2 separate regions of the Homo sapiens genome follow, and region 1 is linked to region 2. Evidence: promoter capture Hi-C in 16 types of primary human blood cells and fetal thymus (Javierre and others, 2016). All regions are on one chromosome and are shown on one strand. The core of a region is centred on a gene start or on the middle of the fragment in contact, and the rest is flanking DNA. Distances in the headings are between cores, read along the strand shown. Region 1 overlaps BORA (BORA aurora kinase A activator). Region 2 holds the start of SLAIN1 (SLAIN motif family member 1).

Region 1 (6,731 bases), core at 1,601-4,100, 5.0 Mb after region 2:
TGTAAAAATCTGTATATGCTGGTTATCAAAAATTTCTAAGAAAAATCATGAAGCAAAAAAAGGAGGATGCAGTATGAGAACGATAATAGTATGAGAATGATAATCCTATTTGTCGAAAATATTTTAAGGACATATGCTATTAAATAAGTAAAATTAATCTGAAAGTACACATAAGAAATGTTATAGTCATTACCTTCATGAAGTGGGATGGGGAAACAGGAGGCTTTTTATTTTATATTTTTTCTTTTTGTTTTTACTATATGTATATGTTTCTTCTATTTTCAAAAATATATATTGAAAAGAAACAAATTTTCTTAAGTTTACCTGCTGGGTTTCTCTTTAAAATTAAGGATTCTTAAAGAAAGTATTTTTTCAAAATGTTGGAAATTTTGAGAGTCTGAGAATATTCAGGTGGGGAAGAACCAAGTGACTGAGTCAGAATGAAAACTGTGCAGTTACTAGATAGAAGAAGAAGTAGGTAATGTTTAGCAGGAGTAAACATAGTCTTTTGTGGTACGGAAGAGCCAAGTACGGCTAAGGAACAGAGGAGGGTTGAGGGGGCTAGAGGGGCAGAAAAGTAAAAATCAGAAATGCTGCCATCACATAAAGACTTTCTGAGGAAAGAACAAGGTAAGTAACCCTTACTTAGATGCTGGGCCAGGCGCAGTGGCTCACGCCTGTAATCCCAGCACTTTGGGAGGCCAAGGTAGGCGGATCATCTGAGGTCGGGAGTTCGAGACCAGCTTGACCAAGATGGAGAAATCCCGTCTCTACTAAAAATACAAAATTAGCTGCGTGTGGTGGCGCATGCCTGTAATCCCAGCTACTCGGGAGACTGAGGCAGGAGAATCACTTGAACCTGGGAGGCGGAGACTGCAGTGGGCTGAGATCATGCCATTGCACTCCAGCCTGGGCAACAAGAACGAAACGCCGTCTCAAAAAACAAAAAATAATAATAATAATAACCTTATTTAGATGCTAAGAAAGGCAATTCAACAGACATAAAAAAGCAAAAAACTTAATTATTTTTATTTTTTAGAAAGCCTACATTATGATATACCTTTCCTGTTTAACAGTAAGAGATTTTATTTCATGAATATCTTAAAAATCCAAAGTATTAACAAAAAAAGACAAAGCCATTCCCAATGCCAATCTAGACTCTGAAGGCCTGAGAATATTCGACTTCCTCTACATAAACTCCAACTTGAAACAAAGTTTGTGCTAATCAACATTTTGAAGGCACAAGGAAGACAAATTGTGCTAGGTCCTGAGAATGAAAGGATGAAGTACAGTATTGGCCAAAAAAGATTGCGTCTAGGGGACAGAAACACTAAACTGATCATTACAACAGTATGCAAGTGCTATGCAAGGTACTGGGATAGCTGGAAATTATTGGTCTTAGGACAGTACAGAAGGGTGCTTTATATAGATGGGACTGTGAAGGGCTTGGAGGGGAGATAGGACAGTGAAGGAATTGAAGAAAGTCTTCCTAAAAGAAGTGATGTACATGCAGAATTGATCCTTAACTGATTTAATGATCAGTAACAGTTTAAGTTACCTCTTCAATGGCTTTTTGTCTTTTGTCTTCCACATCTTTATCTATTCTATACAAAGATAAAGAAGAAAAATAACCATGCTATTACTTAAGCTTATTGAACATTTTAAAAAATAACCTTTCAAATAAATAATCTCCCTTCATTGAAAACTGGCAAATGTTAAGCTCACTTTATAATTAATACTAGTGGTATCTTGTAACATTTAGTAACATTTAGGCAGTATTCTGAAATTCAGCAGTTAGCTGTTAGGCTTACCTCCCTCTTTTCCATTCAAAGTTTGAATGCAATGATACTTTATTTCAAAAGACTTACATTGATATTAAATTGCTTTTAACAATATAAATTTGATAAACTTTGTCCCTTAATACAAATTAAGAAGTATTTAATTCAACATACATCTAAAAATTGTCCAAAGTTTTTCTCTTCAATTATAACAAGTTTATCATGGCAATAATTTTAGAATCAACTTTTACTGTAAAATAGATGAGGATAGTTCACAGTTCTAAACAGTCAAAAATATTAACTCTGAAATAAAACACTGACAATATAACATTTTTTCCAAATGAATTTTTTTTTCACTTTGATACAATCTGCAATTACTGTTATATAAACTTCTCAGCTACAAGATTTAATATAAAATTTTGGGTCCAAGCACAAAGCATATACTTGCCAAGGACTCAGCAGTTAGCTTTCTAGGACCACTTCTTTATTCCATTACAGGAAAGAATCCTTGCCTTCCATCAGTAAATTGGTAAGACATATTTTTTTTTACAATTTAAAATTATTTTGTCTCAGAATTTTTTCTTTAACTTTTATTTTAAGTTCAGGGGTACAAATGCAGGTTACACAGGTAACTTGTGTCACTGGGGTTTGTTGTACAGATTATTTAATCATCCAGGTATTAAGTCTAGAATCCATCAGTTATTTTTCCTGATCTCCCTCCTCTCACCCTCCACCAGGCCCCAGTGTGTGCTGTTCCCCTCTATATGTCCACATGCTCTCATCATTTAGCTCCCACTTATAAGTGAGAACATGAGGGGTTTGGTTTTCTGTTCCTGTATTAGTTTGCTAAGAATAATGGCCTCCAGCTGCATCCATGTCCATGCAAAGGACGCGATCTCATGCTTTTTGTGGCTGCATAGTATTCCATGGTGTGAATTTTTTTCACATATAGACTTGCTCATGGCTTAATAAAGCTTATATGAGAATGTATACATTTCAGAAATTAAGTAGATTTTTCAAGTGGGAGAAGTATGAGAAAATAAACTACAGTGTCAACCCACATATCCCAGCTTGAACAGTAGCCATTTTGAGGATAACAAAATGGCCTTCATCTTATCAATGGTTCTCTTCATCTTATCATGGTCAAAATGGCAGCACATAACAAGCTTAGCAAATAGCAAGTAAGCTCTGAACTAGGATTACTGCATTCAGAAACCTTTTGCTACTTCATCAGAGGGACTTCAAGAACATGAAATACTCAGGTGATTGCTGGAAACTGTAAAAATCACTGTGGCCAAATACTCTAGAGTCAGATCAAACAAGATTCTAAGAAGTCATACAGGGGAGAGCATCCTGACCAGCATACCACTGAACACCAGTATGATGCATATAGGTATAGGTGTGGCCTGAATGTTGAGCCTTTGCAGGGTGGCAAAGGAGAGGGGACCTCAGGACTGGTCACCTACATGGCCAAGACTCACCTGCTTACACTGGTATGCTTTTCAGTTACAATTTTCTGTGTGGATGGTGGCATGAAAAGGATGGGAAGAATTGAAGTAGAGGGCTAATATGTAAGAAGAGATACTGAAAGACACTGCTTGTTTCTAAGGATGAAACGAGATGCTCTGTGAAGAATATATTGACTATCCTTGGTAGAAGCCATAACCATTCATTGAATTATATTATTAAATTAAATTATAATATTTTCCCACTCTTTTCCATTCTTCTATATGATAAATCTATGTACTAAGAGACACCAAGATTATCTTTATAAACCTTTGCAGACAATATATCATTTAGTAGTAAGAACAGAAGCACTGTGTTACAACTTTGGTCTAATTATATTTTTGACTCTTGACTCTTAGTATCTTGTACTTCTTCAGTGTTTCTTACAGTCCCTCACAGTACTCAATAAGTATCTCTTGACTGATCAATATAATAATTGTCCATCATTCAATATATTGAAGAAATGAGACAAAATAATTAAGCATAATTAAGTTCGTGTGAAACAAAAAATTAGTCACTGTGACTCATTTGCTTTTAGATATTCATCTCACCTTCTCTTTCAAAGGTATTATTTATTTACTTATTTATTTATTTTATTTTTTTGAGATGGAGTCTTGCTCTGTCCCCCAGGCTAGAGTGCAATGGCATGATCTCAGCTCACTGCAACCTTTGCCTCCTGGGTTCAAGCGATTCTCCTGTCTCGGCCTCCCGAGTAGCTGGGATTACAGGTGTGCACCACCATGCCCGGCTAATGTTTTTGTATGTTTAGTAGAGATGGGGTTTCACTATGTTGGCCAGCCTGGTCTTGAACTCATGACCTCAAGTGATCTGCCCGCCTCAGCCTCCCAAAATGCTGGGATTACAGGTGTGAGCCACCACACCTGGCCTCAAAGGTATTATTTAAATTTAAGTTAAAATCCTTTCATGCTTCATCCTCATTCTATTCCCTTCCTATTAACACTCTGGGTGGACATTAATTTTATGATTGAATGGTCATCATGTTACCAAGCAAAGAGAAGATGGAGGAGAAAAGCCAGTAAGTATTTACCAGAATATCTCAATATGTGTGCAACGTTGTGTGACTGAATTCTTAAGTCAAAGGGAAAAGGATTATCCTTTGTTTTGGACTAACAACATGTCTACCTTAGGACAGCAAATTAAAATCTGGTCATACCATGTATTTGATTTTTTTCAAATATTAAAAAATCAGACTATAAAACATATAAACAAGAGTCCCTAAAACTACAAAAGAATAATAGGACCTTACACTTTGTAATAAAAAACTAAATCTGCAGTACATTAGTGCCTTGAAACCTAAACAACACATCAACAAATAAGACTGCACTGGGTGATATGTAGAATTCTAGAAAATGTAATTCAGATTCCAAGTGAATTGTTACAGTTGGATGATGTCTAAAAAACCGCTCTGTTGCTAATGGATACCCTTCCATTCAGTGCATACGTAACTCTTTGAGGGGGTTTTAGGTTTCCCCAAACATAGATAACAATGAAACAGCATTTTGCTTTACCCCAAATCATCAAAAAGACAAACTGAAACAAGTTAATGGCAGAAGCCACAACCATGTAGAAAAGTGCAAATTTCAAAATGTTCTTCTCTTAACTGAGTGCTAGGGGTACAGAGCTGTCACCTCAGTAGCAGAGGGAAAAGGTTACTTGTAAAAGAAAAAGGTATCTACTCAGGTCTGGAACTGTTGGCAAGAAAATCTTTCTGAATGTAGTTCTTTGAACTCATTCATTTAGATAGAAAAAATCTGCATCAAAATTTTTTCTCCCTGATACCTTTACATAGAAAAATACTCAACATTTAGAATTTCCTACCTCTCTTCACTTGAGAGTGTTATTAGACTTAGGTGCAAGAAAGGAAAACTTACCGAGAATGACTTAAGTATAAAGCTTGACGATGAATATCTTCTGGGTCTATTTCTACAGGATTTATTACAGCTAGTTGATCAATAGACCATCTAAATTTCCCTGGAGTCTTAACAAAAGAAAGTGAGCTTATGAGTAAAGGCAAACTAAAATAGTTCATCAAAATGCTAACCTATGTGAGAAATAATATGAATGGTTATAATATGAAAATATTTTAAAGCTTGTATTTTAAAATTTGACTTTACCATGAAATTAAATGGCAAAGGGTAATCATATCACATTCGATCAACTGACTTAATTGTATCTCTCTCTCTCTTTGTTTAAGACAGAGTCTCGTTCTGTCACCGAGGCTGGAGTGCACTGGTGTAATCTCAGCTCACTGCAACCTCCACCTCCCCGGTTCAAGCGATTCTCCTGCCTCAGCCTCCTGAGTAGCTGGGATTACAGGCACCCGCCACCACACCCAGCTAATTTTTGTATTTTTTTTTTTTTTTTTTTTTTAGTAGAGATGGGGTTTCACCATGTTGGCCAGGCTGGTCTCAAACTCCTGACTTCAAGTCATCAGCCCACCTTGGCAGTGCTGGGATTACAGGCATGAGCCACAGCGCCCAGCCTGTATCTCTTTTAAAATATCAGAATCTTTCACCTGGGTTGGAATTACGTAATACGAGAAAAATCACAACAGAGTAATAAAGATATAAAACTTTCACAATTAACACTCATCAGTGTGATAAACTAAGCCCATGTAAAAGTAAAAATCTCTCACAGTTAACAAACGTCTTTACTTTCACTAAGAAGGAACTGAAATTAAAGTCCTTAGTCACTTTGGAGGTGGCTGCAAAAGCTCACAACATAGTTGATCCTTAAAATAATTATGAATGGCAACCAGTGCTGCCTTTCTGTACTCAACCATGCAACTGAATTAAAGGTTTATCCAAATCCTAATCTGTAATTAGAAATATATTCTAGGCAAATTCAGTCCTAAAAACGCAAGATGCCATACATTCCAACTTTGAGGATTAAGCTGCCGTCAATCTATTATTTATTTTTAGTAAGACCAAGAGATAAATTTTAATGATTCAATTAAAAATCATAAGGTCAGATTGATGAAATGACTCAATATAAACTGCTCGACCTTCCACTAGTACATACTTGCTCATTGTAAAACCTGTATGAAAGTGTAGCAGAAACAGCCACCCTATTTGCAGTTTTTCTAAGTAACTTGGTAGGTTGAAAGATCCAAGGTCAAAAGAACTTATCCAGTGTAGCAAATAACAGTAAAATAAGATAAAGTGGCCCGGGCATGGTGGCTCATGCCTGTAATCCCAGCACTTTGGGAGGCTGAAGTGGGTGCATCACATGAGGTCAGGAGTTCGAGATCAGCCTGGCCAACATGGTGAAATCCCATCTCTACCAAAAAAAAAAAAAAGATAAAGTGATGAAGCCTTTTCTAATATCCTGAAGAACACTTTTCCTTCATATTACTATTGTCCTAAGTACTAATCATATCACCTATCACACTGCCTTGATATTACTCATCTAGTTCTGTTTAACACA
Region 2 (5,911 bases), core at 2,818-5,317:
AAAGAAAGAAAGAAAGAAAGAATTCAGGTTCTGGAATTGCCATCAACTTTAACTTTCTGAGACACTTAATTCCAGCAATACTGTGCTAAGATAATCAGGTAGTATTAAGGCAACATTCAAGACTTAAAATTCAATTAAGATAAATATTCAAAGAAATAAGAAAATTGTTTCATCAAAGCTTTTTTGTCAAAAGGGAGAGCATAACACTCCATTCTCTTTAAAGCTGTTTTTTTTAAGATACTACTTATAGGTTAAATAATTATTCAGAAAAATGATCTCAAAGACCTGGTTAATCATTAACTAATGAACTATCATAAAGAAAATATTGGTTCTGTTAGTCATGATTTTCCTTACACACATAACTCTTAACCCAAATATTGTCCAAGTTGTTAATAAAAGGAAAATAATGTATTCTAAGGTTTTATTAGAAAAGATATACTTACATAAAAGAATAGCTAAAATATCCAGTGATTAATCTACATTTGTAAACTTTCCTGAACTTATGACATTTTTAGCAGGAAGTGCTATTCTAAATAAATAAGCAAACACATTTTGTTCAACCCATTAGGATGAAATCACAATAAAAAATGCATGAAAAACTGTAGGTGATACAGTTAACAGTAACTTGTTCCTTAATATTGTTACTCTAATAATGATGCCTTTGTTACTGGGAGATGTGATGTCACATGAATACACAAATGTCCAATGTATGTTCAATGAAAGGCAAGTGTTAAAAAAAACTGATGTGTATATGTTTGTATATTGATTGTTGTAATTATATTTTTTTATCTTGAAGGAGCTGCAGAGTATTAACAGGGTGAATTCTGAGTCACGGTAATAAATTGGGGACAAGGAAGATAATTTTTGTGACCTTATACCTACATCTATGTTTTAGTTTTTTTACAATGAGCATGTAAAACTTGTAGTTTTAAATATTTTTAAAATAAGGTACTATATACCCACTCCAGTTGTTTCTTAATAAACACAGGAAATAAAAATAAGTTGCCATCCTGCAAACATATCAGGGAACCAAATGAACAGCACTCTTATTTCTGAGACCACACTACTGGGACACTATAGTCTGCAGTGATAAAGGAACAGAGTGCTTTGCAAGCATTAACAAGTGGGTTAAACTTTAAAAATTAAACCCTGTTGATATTTTCTTCATCAAAAAGATTTGCAATGCAAACAAAATCTTGATGCATAAAATGTAATAATAAAATTATGTAAATCAGGTAACTTTAAAATTTTTAAGACCATCCCACTAAGATTAATGAACCCTCCTTGTTTTTCCACCTGGAATTCTAATCTCAGGCTTGTTTTCAGGAAGATTCTCTGCCATTTGTCTCTAGAAACATTTGTAAAGCATCAAGGCTTTGATTTATTCACCTGTGTACTTGTTGAATGAAATAGAACCTGCTTCAACTTTGATTTGCTTCAAACCATCTGAAGAGCTAATATACTAATACCACTAAGTGGGTGATTTCTGTTAAAGTTGATTATTTCAATGCTATTTGGACAAAATTAAACTATAAAAAGAAAGCCTAGGTACCAAAATGCTAGTAATAGGATGCTAACTAAATATGACAGAAATCCATTCAAAAGAAGGAAAGTTATTAATAGATTACTAATCTCATATTTACAAACAATATCACAATAAATTTTAAAATGCAAATATTTTAAGCATAAAACTGATCCCATATATCTCCCCATCAAAAATGTAAACAAGTTTCCTTCCACTGTTTACATACATACCATCAGAAAAGGCTAAGTAGGGACTAAATCAACCTAAAATAATTTGAAAGTGGCATAAGGGCTGAGAGTTATTAGTGAAATCTAAGGACCATCATGAGAGCATTTTCTAGTACCACATTCAGACTGAAACTGAGATTACTTTACAGAAATAAGGGTGCAGCTTTGAAAAAATGGCTTAAAGTTCCCAAAAGTGATGAGTTGTTTGATTTTTTTACACCTTGAGCTACCTGCACAGCTGCCAAAAAGTATTAAGGTGGATGATGAATACACCTCTGAAAGGCTTACTGTAACTCCATATATTTTGATTCTTGAATGAAACCAATTAACTAATGTACTTTACAGTTAGAGCTCTCACATGACAGAGTGTAAGGGAAAAGGAACACTGCAGTTCCCAATAGGAAACCAGTAAGGATCTCCATTTCCCAATCCCTTCCATGCAATCATGCAACAGAGACACAAAGAAAGTAATGAAAACACAGCTTGGAAAAACAGAAAGGGTCCTACATAAAAAGGACCTAAAGTAAAGAAGGACTACAGCAAGCCTCCCCCTAAAGTTACTCATTCATGGAAAGTAGACAGTGCTAACCAGATGTCAACTGAATAAATGCTGTCAGCCTCAAGTTTTCTGATAACCAAGCTAAAAAGTTTCCAAGAAATAAGAAAATAAGGCTTCTCTAATCTCACTTTTCTTCTACAGTTTAATTTAAAAAATTAAAGACAGTTCGTTGGTTCCTAGGTAAAAAAATAAATAAATAAATAAAAAAGTCCCTCCCACCTGTTCATTCCACTCCAAGAAAAGTCCTCTTTATTGGCACTATTTATGGGAAAGCCAGTGAGGTCACCCCATTTTAAAAAGCAAGTCAGTCTCTGAAAATAAGATTTCAATGAAAATGCAACGCAAAAGGGCACACGACTGCAAAATTCAAACAGCAAGAACGAACCTCTCTATAAAGAGAGATCCATCACTGCGCGGCTTCCGATGCCACCCGAGGAGGAAGAGCACGCAAATCCTGTCCAGCGTTCGTTTAAAACGAAAGAACAGTAACAGTCGCAGACAGAGGCCAACCCCTACCATCCCCCGTCATCCCTCCGAAAACACTGGGGAAAAGAGCAGCACTGAGCAAAAAGACAAGATGACATGGATTTTGCACTTAATGCTAACGAGGAGCTTGGGACCCAACAATCAGCAAATAGCAGAACCCATGGCAGATGGGGGGAAGGGGGGGCCGGTTCATCCGCAGTCGGAGCGATTAGAAAACAGGTTTCTGCCTTCATGAGAAGCCTCATCGTGGGAAGTGTCACCGCCTGGCTCAACACCTGCTGGGTCGGCCCCTCCGGGAGCCGCGGGGAGTCACCCCGGCTGCCGCGAGGGGACCCCCGTCCGCCCCCCGCCCCCGCTCCCCGGTGCCCGAAGCCCCCGAGGCCAGGGTCTCGGGGAAGGAGCGGAGCCAGGCAGTACCAGGTGTAGTCGTCCTCGTCCCGCCAGGCGGCTACGCTCTCCAGATCCAGCAATTCCACCTCGTCCAGCAGCGTGGGGGGCGGCGAGGGCGGCGCTGCAGCTGCCCCTGGCGGCGTCCCCGCGCCCCCCGGCTCCGGCCCGCCACCGCCCGCGCCGAAGAAGCCTGCTGCCGGCTTGAAGTAGACGAAGGGCGCCTCGGGTGGCTGCGCCAGGCTGCAAAGCAGGGAGGGCGCGGGGCTAGGCAGGCAGAAGGTGCCCGGGAACGCGGGGCTGGAGCCACCGCCGCTGCCACTACCGCTGCCGCCACCGCCCCCCGCGCCCAGCGCCAGCCCGAGCCCCAGGCCCCCTGAGGCCGCGGCGGTGGCCGTGGCGGCCGGGGGGCTCCGAGGACCCAAAGGCTGCAGGCCAGCGGGGGGCGGCGCGGCGGGCGGCGGCGGCGGCAGCAGCAGCAGGTGCGGGGCGGCGGCCGCGCTGGCCGCTCGACTCCGCAGCTGCTCGTTCTGCTTCTCCAGCTTGCGCACCAGCTCCTGCAGCTTCTTCACCTCCAGCTCCGCGTTCACCACCGGCCCGGAGCCCGCTCCAGAGCTGACCCCTGCCGAGGCGCATTTCACCTGCTCCGCCATCATCGTGGGCCCCGAGGGCGCCGCGGCCGCCGGGGAGTGCGCGCCGCCGCGCCGGCTCCTCGGGCCACGGGGAGGCTACGGCTCCTTCCCTGTCGCCCCGGCCTGGGGGGCCGACCACGCGCGGGCTGAGGCCGAGCCGGCGGTTCGCATCAGCACCGGGCCCTCGCCTCCGGCCGCGGCAGCCACCACCGAGCTGATCTGCACATGCTCAGTGCGTCCCTCCAGTCCCCTGGGCGTCGCGGCGGCTCCGGGTTTTAGCCGCGGCCCCGGAGCGGGGCGGGGCAAGAGCGCCGAGGGGGCGGGTGGGGGGGGGGGGGCGGAGAACCGTGGGGAAGCCCACCCAGGGGGCGGGGCCGGCAGCCCGGGTTGGGGCCGGGGAGCCGCACCCACCCTCGCTACCTAATCCCAGGGGCCTGATTGGACCTGGCCTGAACTTTCCCGCCACAAGCACCTCCTCCTGCCGCTTGGTGGGACAGTGAACTGCGCGGGTCTCTGAGGCGGTTGCGGGGACCAGGGGGTTCCCAAAGAAGCAGCTGCAGGTGCTGGCCCTCGAGTAGTGCACCACCGGCCCGCTGGTTTGCTCCCTTCCCAGCTCTCTGTTAGGCTCCGTGACAGCACTTAATAGCCACTGGCTAACGAATCCTATAGAAAACTTAAAGGCTGGGGATCGTTATTCTAAAAACCGAAAAGTGGAGATAGGGGGAACAGAAAGGCTTTGGGACCATGCCACTCATGTTCTCATTGGTAATAGAGAAGCAAAATGGTGGGAGACAGGAGACCGAGAAGAAAGAGAAGAAAGCCCTCTCTCTAAGAGGTAGAGTGGCCAGCTGCTAAGGAGACAAGTGTTTACTTATTTATTCTAAAATAGTCAAATTTGAACTGTTACCATCATTGTTTGTCACAATAAAAGAAGAACTGCTTTTTTTTTCATACTATGTATATTCATGCATTCCCCAAACAAAAGATCTTTGAGCACCTACTCTGTGCCAGGAACCATTCTAAGAGCTCGTGATGCGGGCAATGAGTACAATAGGCAAAAATGGTTATGGGGAGAAATATGAGTAAAATTGTTTAGTGCTCCTTCTATTAAATAATGTGTAAGTTATTAAAGTCAGACTTGCTGGTGGGAAAGCAGAAAACAGAAAACCTCAGAATTCTACCCAATACACTTTAATCTCACCTGCAAACCTGCTATTTCTTACCACTTGGAAAACGAGCAAATCTGCTTTTTTTAAAAGAGGCTTTTAAGCAGAAGAATTTAATCGAGTTGTGTTCAATGAATACTGACTGACTTAGCATTTTGAGTGTTTAACACAATCAGAGGAAAACCTGAGATTATATTATGAGAAAAATCTACACCACTGGTTCTCATCCTCAGATGATATACTATCTAGTGAAAGTCCTTGCTAGGGACTTTACATACCAATCTTTGTGACAATGTACCTCATTTCTCTGGAGCTGCTAACACATCGTATCTATTGGTTTCAGATATGGTTTTGTGTCTTCCTGCTCAGAAACACTTGTATCTTCTCAGTTGTTAATCTACATCTCTAGCTTCTGTGTGCAGGGTGGATGTTCTGCATTTAACATGCTTGGTGAGCGCTTCCATAAATTAGCTAAATGCGTGTGATGACTCCCTTAACCTTCCCTGTGTCCCAGCTTGCTAGCCCACCACCTAACCACCTGTATCACCCATCACCTTTCCAAGTTTCGGTATATCTTTAGGATTTTTTTTGGTTATTACCAAAACCTGGAGAAATGGAGTAATACTACTGAAAGTCCTAAGTAAAGAATCTATTGAAGGATTTTTCCCGCATGCTCAGTGGCAGATGCGGGTAGCAGTATCTCCCTGCAACACAAAGAAAGGGAGACGACAGACACAATGAGAACAAAGAGCTGCTGGGTCCCAGACTAGAGAAAGAAATTGGGAATAGGCACATAATAGTGAAGACAACAAGAATTAAGATGTAAAGAAAAGCCGTCATTTTACTGCACAATTTATATACACTCTAAAGAAGGAGAGAAACAGACAGCCCTTTCCTCCTTCATTTACCCAATATGGTCTATATACATC

The links. The method cuts DNA at HindIII sites, captures the fragments that hold promoters and counts their contacts. A CHiCAGO score of 5 or more calls a contact.
Region 1: a fragment that was not itself captured here is called in contact with the fragment with the promoter of SLAIN1 in region 2 in 1 of 17 cell types (non-activated CD4 T cells); the score reaches 5.9 in non-activated CD4 T cells.

Annotation. Positions count from the first base shown.
Region 1 is chr13:72,729,833-72,736,563 of GRCh38, reverse strand. It overlaps BORA (BORA aurora kinase A activator), which reads right to left. Exons shown (of 12, transcript NM_024808.5): 3 at 5,177-5,283; 4 at 1,559-1,604. Among named protein-coding and RNA genes, the nearest start is that of BORA, 5.3 kb to the right of the region's middle. The HindIII fragment of the contact is 192 bases long and covers 2,755-2,946 here.
Region 2 is chr13:77,695,843-77,701,753 of GRCh38, reverse strand. SLAIN1 (SLAIN motif family member 1) reads right to left here and starts at 4,067. Exons shown (of 7, transcript NM_001242868.2): 1 at 3,215-4,067. The coding sequence starts at 3,840. MIR3665 (microRNA 3665) reads left to right here and starts at 3,638; the gene lies at 3,638-3,742. RefSeq lists silencers at 3,000-3,149, 3,310-3,549, 3,750-4,309. The HindIII fragment of the contact is 5,751 bases long and covers 181-5,911 here.